4 separate regions of the Homo sapiens genome follow, and regions 1, 2 and 4 are each linked to region 3. Evidence: promoter capture Hi-C in 16 types of primary human blood cells and fetal thymus (Javierre and others, 2016). All regions are on one chromosome and are shown on one strand. Each heading gives the region's core, a stretch centred on a gene start or on the middle of the fragment in contact. The rest is flanking DNA. Distances are from core to core; before and after follow the strand shown.

Region 1 (2,700 bases), core at 80-2,579, 180 kb before region 3:
ATCATAAAAGGAAAGAGTATCAAATTGATATTAGCCATCTCAACTGCAAAACTGAATCCAAAAGATATTAGAGAATAAACCAAGTTCTAAGAGTAAAGGTTCATGAAACTAGAATAACGTATCACCAAACTGATAATGGATATGGATATAAAGAGCATCTGAGTGTACACTTAGGGTCTTCTGTGTCTTTTTTTTTTTTTTTTTTTTTTTTTGAGACAGAGTCTCACTCTGTCGCCCAGGCTGGGATGTGGCGGCATGATCTTGGCTCCCGGCTTCAAGTGATTCTGTGCCTCAGCCTCCCAAGTACCTGGGATTACAGGCATGTGCCACCACGCCCAGTTAATTTTTTGTTATTTTTAGTAGAGATGGGGATTCATCATGTTGGCTACGCTGGTCTCAAACTCCTGACCTCAAGTGATTCCCCTGCCTTGGCCTCTCAAAGTGCTGAAATTACAGGCATGAGCCACCACACCAGCCTCCTGTGTGTCTTAAAATGTCTTCCACCCTCATCCCCCCAACACTCCCCCTAGTGTACACACATTCCTGGATACAAAGTATACACTCATACCATCTTTATAAAAAACTTGTGAGAAAAAATTCCAGCCAAGCAAGTATCTACTCATTATATTTCAAAACCAAGTTCATCTCTATATGATTTTTCATTAGTTTAACTCTAATAACATGATTTAAAAAAAGAAGTAACCTGAATCTGTAAAAATAACACATCTAGAAAAACAAAATCAGGAATATAAAGTAAAAAGAACTTAGACTTGCCCAATTATCCAACAATAGGGAGACACTTCATGTCACATGACACATCAACATCAAAGCACATATGAAACATCAAAAAAAAAAAAAAATGGAAATACCTGTCACCACAAGATTAAAGTTAAAAATTATAGGTCTATCCAATATGCGATACTGGACAAGTCCTTTGGCTTAATGTCTAACTTTCCTCATCAATAAATAAGCAACCTTGATTATTTGTCAATTACCTTGTTCTGAGAAATGTATAAAATGTTACATGAGAAGACTAAAGTTCTAGGAATACCTAGGTAAATATCATTAGTAAAGTAATACTTTAAAATCATGTGGATGGAATTCCCATTAAAAAAAAAACCTCTTATTCTCAATATCAAGATTATAAGAGACACACAAAATTATTTTACTACAGCAAGACCAGCTTGTAAGAAATGAAAAGAAAAAAGCAGCTACAAACTAGGTTACAAACTGATAACCTGATAACCTGAATTTGACCTTCACGTATTTCCTCTCCCTAGAACAACATGCATTCTCGAGTCCCTAGCAATCCTTATTGACCACATCCAATTCAATTCATATACTTTTCCACCATGGCATCAGAGTTTGCATCATTCGGTAAAGAGGACAGTATCTGTGATTCTAACAAACAGCACAATCTATGAGGCTTTACTCTAATCCAATTTTTGACTAATATGTCTGCCTCACTCTAAAGTAGCAAAACAAAATGATACCTAGTAGGCTGAATAATGACTCCCAAAGATACCAGTCCTAATCCTATAAATGTTACCTTATTTGGAAAAAAAGGTCTTTGCAGATGTGATTAAGAATCTTGAGATGGAGAGAGGATCCTGGATTATCCAGAGACCTCTAAGTGAACCCACATGTCCTTAGAATAGAGAGTCAGGGGAAGATCTGACACACACAGAGAAGGTGATGTGAAGACAGAGCAGACACAGATTTGAAGACGCTGGTCTTAAAGATTCGAGTGATGTGGCTACCAGGCAAGTGATGAGGCTGACAGCCACTGGAAGGTGAAAAAAAGCAAGAAACAGATTCCTCCTTAAAGCCTCGGGAGTGAGCACATTCTTGGTGACACCGTGATTTTGTCCCCGTGAAAATGATATTGAACTTGTGGCCTCCAGAACTGTGAGAATAAATCTGTATTGTTTTAAGCCACCAAGTTCGTGATAATTTGTTATAGCAGCCATGGAAATTAGCAGAATGCCCAATAGTCAAGTTCTTCTGTTGGGAAAGAAAATCTGCCAAACTTGTAAAGATGAAAATGTGCAGTAATTTCAACAAGCATCAAGAGACAAATCAAGAAAGACAAAGTTTCTTACCTGTAACAGGTTAATAGGACAAAATCCCTATCATTTCTCTCAAAAATAATGAAATATGATAACTAAAATAATCAGTAATTTCAACAAGCATCGAGAAAAATCAAGAAAGACAAAGTTTCTTACCTGTAACAGGTTAATAGGACAAAATCCCTATCATTTCTCTCAAAAATAATGAAATATGATAACTAAAATAATTTAATATAATTCAGCCTGTTAAATTCCAAGGGGGAAAGAGGTAATGGTATCCTAGTATAATGACAGAACAGGCAAGGAGTAGCTAGTTATTTTTGGGCAAACAACAGAGAAAACTGCCACCCTTTAAGTAAAAAAGCAGAAAAAAATTTATAGAACCCATACAAAAATTCTGAAATAAAAAAGTAACTAAAAAAGTACTCAAGAACATGATGTCACAGTCTAAAAGATTTACCTTAGAAAACTAGGTGACAACTTACATATAAGAAAATTTTAAAAAACCTAATTTGTGAAACAGGGATGAAAAGAAACCAGAATATAAAAAGTATCAACAGAGCTTTTAAAAAAAGATATTTCAGAGAAAAAATATCATTGCAATATTTTAAATGTCATGAAAAGCAATAAT
Region 2 (2,700 bases), core at 50-2,549, 240 kb before region 3:
GGTCGAGGAGATGATGAGGGGTGGGGAGAGGAGGCTTTTCCCATGGAACTCTCCAACACTGCTGCAGAAAGCCAAGCACATGACATGCACCACACGACCCCTAGGTGGTGGTCCTTGCAGCCGATTTCAGAGACCATAGCCCCAAAAGTGCAGAGGGTTCCTCTGTTCCCTCTCCTTGGACAGTTCCCATTAGTCTGTCTGGCCTTACCTTTCTAAAGAAATTTGCCGCTTGAAAATCACAGTGATGTACGTTATTGAGTCCCCAGAACTCTCAATCCCCTCTGTTTTTGCCCATCCCAAGCCCAAACTGGCAAGCTCTCTTTCTGCCCGATCTTCCAGGAAGCTTCCCCAACTGCCACAGTCCTGTCCAATTTCACTGAATTTTATTATTTTCAATAGACATATTTTTTAAATGTCTCTCTAAAAGCGACTTAAGATTATTATGTAAGATTTTTATAAGATTATTAACTTTGTAAGATTTTGCCCATCTGAATCAATCTCCAAATCATAGAAAAAATGTTATTGACCTGATAATCGTGTTTCAATCCGGGGTTTGGAAAAGATGTTCACCACATGGAAATCATGGCTAAGACCCATTTCGCACAAAATGCACACTCAGGCATGGTTCAGTATCACGGTGCAGTGTGTGCGTGTCGGGTACCTCACCAGCCACACTTCGGCTTTGTAAAGGTGGGTTGGGGAGCCGAGTCCTCCCATCCTTTCACAGCCCCCGCAGGCCCTGGGTGAATGCTGGTCTAGTGAATTCACAGCTCCCGGGCAACTCCCAGCCGCGAGGCGGGGCGGCAGGGTGGAGGGAGCCACCCGCGGAGAGGCCTCGACCCCCACCCCAGCGAAGCCTAGGGCCGGGGAGCTGCACCTCGGCGCACCCCGCCTGGCGCCCTGAGCCCGCGTGGGCCCGGGCCGGGTTTGCGGGGAGGCAGCTCGGCTCCCGGAGGTCCTCCCGCAGGCGGCGCCCTCCGAGCCAGGCGCGAAGTGCACCCAGGCCCCGCAGCCCAGCGCCGCGTGGCCATCCAGAGGGATTTGTCAGCGCGCCCTATATAGCCGCAGACAGCTGCCATCTGTTATGTTTAGTAACACCACCACGCCGCTCCCCCTTCCTTGAGAATAAACCCGCCTTGGTCATTAAGCCACGAGGATATTTTTTTAACGACTCCCACTCCCTCTTGCAAGCAGTCTTAGCTCATCAGTCCGGGTCTGAGTCTTGAGCGCCCAATTCTGCTTCCTCACTGCGTCCTGGGCGCTCTCTGAGCTGGACGAGCCATCCACTGTGGGCTTGGGCCCCGGGCAGGTGCTTACAGGAAAAGGCGGAGACAGCGCCTCCCTCCATGGGTGCAGCGAGGAGAAAAATCCGTGGTGTGTGACCATTTTAATGCATCGCATTTCAGTTCTGCAAATGCAAAGTGTAAATTAGGCTAGAACATGATTGTGAATCAGACCAGACGTCATGATTAATTTATCACTGTGCTCCAGATACATCAGCTAAAATAATATGAATTTAAAGTAACGGTTCCTCCCGCCTTTGTGTTTGCTGGTGAACTCTAAAGAATAGATCACTAGAGAAATAAAGGAACTTAAGAGTCCACTCTATTCTCGTATTAGCGGAGCATGAACATAATTAAACATTCTCAATAAGGTTTCTTCCACCGTTTGAAATTAAATTTGCCCACCCACATTTTGTATCCGTCTGTGTAACACTCACTGATGCACCCTGAGCTGCTGATAAACATTGAGGCGGAGATTAGCTTTTTCATATTTCAGGTAACATTTATGATGCCTCAAGTTCTGGTTCCCAAACTGGCTGATTATCAAAATTGTCTAGGGCCTTGCCACTAAAAGTGTGGTCCATGAAGTAGCGGCACGGTATCACTTTTGAGATCGTTAGGAATGCAGAATCTCAGGCCCTACTCAGACCTGTTGATGGGAGTCTAAATTTTTTACAAGACCTGCCCTCACCACATCACCACCCCCATTAAAGTTTGAGAAGAATTGATGTAGTTTTTTAAAAACCACAAATACCTTTGCTCAGACATCTATATATGTTTAGTAAGCAGCCGAGTTGATTCTTATAAGTTGAGTTGTCAAGTTTGGAGGTCACTGGTCTTTGAGGCTCAAGGTTCAGATGACTTTTATGCTGATGACATGAACCAAATTTATTAAATCAGTGGAACTCTCTCTGAAAGTTTGGTACAGGTGAGTTTATCTGTTTAGTCATCCATGAATTACAAGAAAGCTTATTAATTATTTAGTTAAATAATGACACATTTAGTCCTCCAATTAGGAAAGCTCAACACTAGGAAGGAGGATTTTCTCCTTATGTAACTGGCTCATTCACTCCCAGACTGAGTGTAGGCATGAGGAAATCTTTTGCTTGGCCATCAAAGCCGCCCCCACCCCCTTCGAATGTTCTGACTTTCTTTATAACAGTACCTTTCATTCAGAAGAATACAAACATCCCTTGTGCTGCTGTTCAGTGATGTTGAGGGCTGTACTGGAGGACTGTGTCTAGTTCTGGACCTCACAATAAAAGAGGGATGTGGGGACCTTGGCAAAGGTTCAGAAGATATTTGTAAAGGTTATTTTTTAAATTCAGAATGAATCTTCACATTGTGTGGCATTATCTATAAAATGGACATGAAATGAACTTTGACTGTAGCTTGAGATTTTTACTTTAAGAGAAAA
Region 3 (2,700 bases), core at 137-2,636:
AGCAGCCAACAGATGCTACAAACAGTTAAATTCGTGAAAAGGCAACATCTGAACTGGATGCTATGCTAAAGGTCTGGGGATTTGGCGTGAGTGGCGGTGGATACCAAATAACATGAAGGGCAGTCTTTGCCCTAACTGCAGGAATGATTTAATGAAGAAAACAAACACCTAAAAATAGTAAAAAATGAGTAAGTGAAAAATGATGGATACAGAGCAGATAACCAATTCAGCGGCATGGAAAACAACTTCCGATTCACTGGAGTAAATTCTGGTCCTGGAGAGACAAGAGGTTGTGGGGACAGAGGTCGAGATCAGTGGGGAAGGAGCGCTTCACGTTCAGGGGGCCATGAGTTGAACAATTCGGACAAAAGAGGTTTAGTTGGAGATATTGCGAGAGTACAGTTCTACCTAACGGACACAGCTCCGGGTGGGTGTGCCATATTCCATTTCGTACGAGTCTCTTAGAAACAAAATGCTACAATTCAACAGGCTAAAGTAGTCTTTCAAAGGAAAGTTAAAATCACACTGAATTACTATCTCTAATGACTGAGTTCATTAAGCGCAATAATTGCACTTAAAGGTTTTGCAACGAAAAACGAAAAATATGTTTCTTGTGGCAATGAAAGCCCCTAGAACAACTTGGCTCTCCGCACAGGCTTGGACATTAAGATGCCGAAGAAGTCCCGAGGTGGACGTCGGACAACGAACGTACCTCAAGTCACCCGAGGGAAGAGAAGACGCGAAGGCATCCCAGGGACCGCATTTTTGCAGGTAAACTCGGGCTGGGCGCTCCCGCCGGGAGGTTGGTTAGTGCCCGAATGCGGAGGCAGAAAAGCTGCGGCGGCCGAATAACGAGCTCACCGCGGCCCCGCCCGGGCCAGCTCTCGGTTTCCATGGCTAACGTCTACTCCGGCGGCCGCCACCCGGAGCTGAACGGAGCGCGTGCGCGTTCGGGGACCTCGTCGGCGCCTGGCTGGCCTCGCTGCCCCGGTCTGTGCTCGCTCCCGAGGCGGGCCCTGCCGTAAAGCAGGCTTGGCCTAGAGGAAGCAGGGAAATAGCGCGCTTCGTTCGCGCCAGGACTAGGCCAACATCTGCCTGGCCGGGGACGACGGGAGTCGCTCGTGCTCTGGTCTCGCACTGGGCCTAGCAGAAGCAGCAGCGGGGAAAGCCGAGACGCCCTGAACGTTCCCTTGGGCCGGGCCTTTACGCAAGAGCGTCGTTGCCCTGGTGACGTGACGTCCTTCCTCAGGATTGTGCGCCGGGGTGGGGAAACAGACGTGCAACCGCCATTTTGCGCATTAATTTACCAGAGGTCGGGTCAGGCTGTCTTAACGCAGGCAGAGGGGTGTGGCAGATCTCCAACCGCTCGGGGTCCCGTGATTTCCATTAATGAATTCGCACACTGGCGTTACCACTCAACACACCGACGGTAATGAATGTTTTTGAGTGATACTTCATGCAGCCTATTCGGCTTGGACGATTGGGGACTGCATAACGTGATCGCTATCGCCTCAGTTTGTGGCTGCGTTTTAAAATACAAGGAACCAACATGTCCATTATAGAAACGTGTTATTAAGATATTAATAAAACAAGGCAGAGTTCCGGCGTTCCAATTAAAAGGCCATGGCTGATTCATATTAGTGTGGCGGGAATCTTTACAGCCTGGCCGCAAAGACCCCAATTAACGCTAGTTAAAAAGTTATCCCTATACCCAGGGCTCACCTCCCCCATTCTCCACGAAATATGATCCCCCCCCCGCCCCACCAAGTTCTGGACACGTTCCAGATTGCCAACTGGGAGTCCTCAAGACGGCCCCGGAGAGCGTTAACAATGATTGGTCTCAGCTGATTTAGAGGCTCGGGTAAGGGAACTTTGAAGCTAACTTGTCGGTATCAAGGTACCCGCAATTCCCCCATGTGATTGGGTAGATGCCCTAGCAGTTCTGCACACTTCAGCGTCCAAGATGACTTGTGGACTGTTTTGTTTGGATCTCCATTCCTCAAAACTATAAATGCGGCCTTAATTTTTTTTTTTTTTTAATTCTTGGCTCTTGGCTGTCTTGGAAATGCTGACTTTGTATTTAAGTATTTAGGTTTTCAGGTCGTAATAGAAAAATAATTACTGTGTTCATATTAAAAGCCAAAGCTTTATTTATTTATTTTTAAGATATTGTGTCCAGAGCAAAAGTGTAGTGTGTTGAAAGCATGTGGAAGAAAACCCCGGATATACATATACTTGTCTTCAAGGACTTAATTTGCAGGTAGACCCTTTCATAGTTTGGTATCTTCACGATTTGATAGAATATGGGAAAACGTGCTGTTGGTCCATCCATAGTTTTTCTCATTGAAGCTCACTCATTGCGGGTCAGAGTACCACATTAAGCATCTCGGAAGCATCACTTACCGCCAAGAAGTCTGAGTTTCATGTAATTAAGAGTGGAGGCTCCAGAGTCAGGAAGTCTGGGTTGAAACCCTGGCACTACTGCTTACTACTTGTGAGATCTTGAGGTTATGTAATTTCTCTAGTGCTCAGTTTCCCCATATCTTGTAAAATAAGGCAAATAATAGAACTTAACCCGCAGAGAGTTATGTCATTGGATTAAATCAAATAATTGTAAATTGCTTAGCAGAGTAAATGGCACAGCTTAAGTGCTTAGTAAGGATGAGCTATTATCTTTATGTAGAGAGTCTGTATTTATGC
Region 4 (2,700 bases), core at 111-2,610, 130 kb after region 3:
TAAATCTGTCAAATTTCCCCTAAGTAACATGTCCTGGAAGCTTTCTGCACTCTGATAGAAACTAGGGCTGTAGGCGTTTTAGATAAAGTTTTTGCTATATAGGGGATATTGGGCTTGAGGCGTCTCATGAATGGGTGGAAGGAATGAATAAACAATACCTAGCTCCTAGGCTGGTTCCCCAGGAAGGCAGGAGCTATGAAGTGTGATTTTTTCATGGAGATTTTATGTTGCCCAGGAATTCAGCAGCTGAGCAATGATGAAGTAAGTGTGAGGTATGCAAAAGCATTCTGGGTGAAGGAAACAGAACAAACAAAACCACTTATGTGGTGGAGTACTGCGTTTGCTTCAAGAGCAGTGCGGTACACAGTTCAGCTGACTTTAAAAGAGTTGAACAGAAGTTATGATAGTCTAAAACTATACAGTGGAGAACACTGATCCTTTACTGTAGGTGAAGAGTCTGCCAATAAAACAAAACAAAAGCCTTTGCAGCCATTTGTTACCTTCCAAATTACATTCAGACTCTTCACCTACAGTAGAGGATTCAATATTCTCCACTGTATGGTCTCTAAACTAATCATAACTCCTGTTCAAATCCTTTAGAGTCAGCTGAACTGTGTACCTTACCCTCATTCATTCAGTGGTACTTGAAGGTATAAACATTCACAATGATATATATCAATGACTAATATATTCAGTTACACAGAAAGATGCCTACACATTTTGTTAATATACAATAATGTGCTCATTTAGCAAATGTAGGCTACACACGTTTTTAAATGTTTGAAGCTTAATGTAATCTATTAAAATATACTTTATAATCCTATATAAAGGTTTAATAAATACTTTTACAGGCTTACTGACTTAAATCAACAGTTTCAAAGCCCTGTAAAACAGAAAGTTTCTGCTTATGTAGCTCCTTGAGATAGTATAGCATGAAATCTTTATAAAGAGGCAGATTAATTACTGAAAGTCATTATATACACCAAAGCAAAACTGTTGTGTATCTATAAAGTGATATGGAAGCTTCAACTAGTAAATATGTACTGGGCTATTAATCCAGTCCCATGCTAGATGTTATGTCTTATAAGACACAAAACATCATATCTTCCCCAAAGGAACTTACAGAGTCACTTATATATTGTTTTGTCGTATTTTAAAGGTGTTTTTTTTTTTTTAGTTGTAAATACACTGTATCTATGACCAGGCTGACAGCTTCTCAGGCACAAGGACAGCATCTTTTATGCTTTGAAGTCCCTACTTGATAAATGTTGTATGATGTCAATGGGTAACTCAATTGGCAACACATCGGTAAATAATACAAATCTATAATAATAAAGGTATAGTAGCAACAATCCACTCAACTAGCATGTCTCTATAAAATAAGATTTTTGTAAACTGGAAAATATAATAATTTTATTTCATAAAAGAAATGAAGCTAAGAGATAATGACATACAATTAGAAACATGCAGTGTTTTGTTGTTGTTAAAGACATAAAGATAATTTTAACAGAAAATCTTTCAGTCCTAGTTCTACTGAAATACTTTTTATTTAAATACTGAATCCTTAGCCTTAAAAATATTAATAGGAGAAGTCAGTGTTTAAATAAAACAACTAGAAATGTAGCATAGCAATTTAAAGCACTTAGTAGTTATTTCTTAACATACATAAAAGATCAGAGGAAAAGTAGCCAAGCTTGCAGTATGCTAAAACTAAAAAACAGTACTTTAAATTCTGCTAACATATATTTGATATATTCCTTAAAACAAATCAAAGTTACTCTTATTAAAACCAAGTAAACAGGTTAATGCTAATCAAAATCCATCAAAGCTATCTAATTTACTATCAGGCTGACATAGTTATCTAAATGGCTTTTTGGTCATTTTGCTTTTACATTTTTTTTTTTTTCACTAATCCACTTGTTGCAAAGAGTTTCCTCTGCAATAATTTAAAAAGAAACAAATAATTTTTAAAAATCCTGTTTGGAGCTGGGCACAGTGGCTCATGCCTGTGATCTCAGCACTTTGGGAGGCCGAGGTGGGAAGATCACTTGAGGCCAGGAGTTTGAGACCAGCCTGGCCAACATGGCAAAACCCCGTCTCCACTAAAAATACAAAAATTAGTGGGTGTGGTGGCATGCACCTATAATCTTAGCTACTCGGGAGTCTGAGGCAGGAGAATCGCTTGAACCTGGGAGGCAGAGGTTGCAGCGAGCTGAGATCGGGCCACTGCACTCCAGTCTCGGGGACACAGCGAGACTCTATCTCAAAAAAAAAAAATCCTGTTTAGGTTGAGTGAATATAAATGTGCACCCAGTAGAGACACACCATTCAGTTTTTGCACTTGAAAAATCAAGGCCTTTACTTGTTTACATGGGAGCTGGATGAACACCTTTTATATCTTTGTATATAAAAATCAAAAAATGTGGTTAAGCAAACAGTAGTAACTGCTGGGCAAATGGATGTACTAATACAAAGGAAAGTATTTTCAAAGGCCTCTTTTTCCCTTGCGAAGAGCTTCTTACACTTTTCCATCAGAGTTCTCCCAAGACCTTTGAGAAGCTTTTACTCACAGAGGTGAGAAAAAAGCCATGTCTAATAGAAATCAGGGGACTTGGTTTAAAGTAACCCATAACAATAACAGTTTTTTTTTCTAAAAAGTTAGTGTAAGTTTTACATTCTACACTATAAAAATTAGTATTT

The links. Contacts are between HindIII fragments. The CHiCAGO score rates a contact against its expected background, and 5 or more counts as called.
Region 1: a fragment that was not itself captured here is called in contact with the fragment with the promoter of PCNX4-DT in region 3 in 1 of 17 cell types (neutrophils); the score reaches 6.0 in neutrophils.
Region 2: a fragment that was not itself captured here is called in contact with the fragment with the promoter of PCNX4-DT in region 3 in 7 of 17 cell types (fetal thymus, non-activated CD4 T cells, erythroblasts and 4 more); the score reaches 11.1 in fetal thymus.
Region 4: a contact is called between a fragment that was not itself captured here and the fragment with the promoter of PCNX4-DT in region 3, in 1 of 17 cell types (total CD8 T cells). The highest score is 6.0, in total CD8 T cells.

What each region holds. Positions count from the first base shown.
Region 1 is chr14:60,270,203-60,272,902 of GRCh38, reverse strand. All of the region lies in intron 1 of PPM1A (protein phosphatase, Mg2+/Mn2+ dependent 1A), which reads right to left. Among named protein-coding and RNA genes, the nearest start is that of PPM1A, 22 kb to the right of the region's middle. The HindIII fragment of the contact is 5,154 bases long and covers 1-2,700 here.
Region 2 is chr14:60,326,224-60,328,923 of GRCh38, reverse strand. No RefSeq gene overlaps it. Among named protein-coding and RNA genes, the nearest start is that of LINC02322, 4.4 kb to the right of the region's middle. RefSeq lists a silencer at 696-1,005 and an enhancer at 1,116-1,175. The HindIII fragment of the contact is 1,908 bases long and covers 346-2,253 here.
Region 3 is chr14:60,090,432-60,093,131 of GRCh38, reverse strand. It overlaps PCNX4-DT (PCNX4 divergent transcript), which reads left to right and starts at 1,386. Exons shown (of 5, transcript XR_943918.4): 1 at 1,386-1,429. PCNX4 (pecanex 4) reads right to left here and starts at 1,209. Exons shown (of 11, transcript NM_001330177.2): 1 at 713-1,209. RefSeq lists enhancers at 382-1,015, 979-1,168, 1,259-1,388. The HindIII fragment of the contact is 2,213 bases long and covers 1-2,147 here.
Region 4 is chr14:59,961,987-59,964,686 of GRCh38, reverse strand. All of the region lies in intron 10 of LRRC9 (leucine rich repeat containing 9), which reads right to left. Among named protein-coding and RNA genes, the nearest start is that of LRRC9, 43 kb to the right of the region's middle. The HindIII fragment of the contact is 670 bases long and covers 1,026-1,695 here.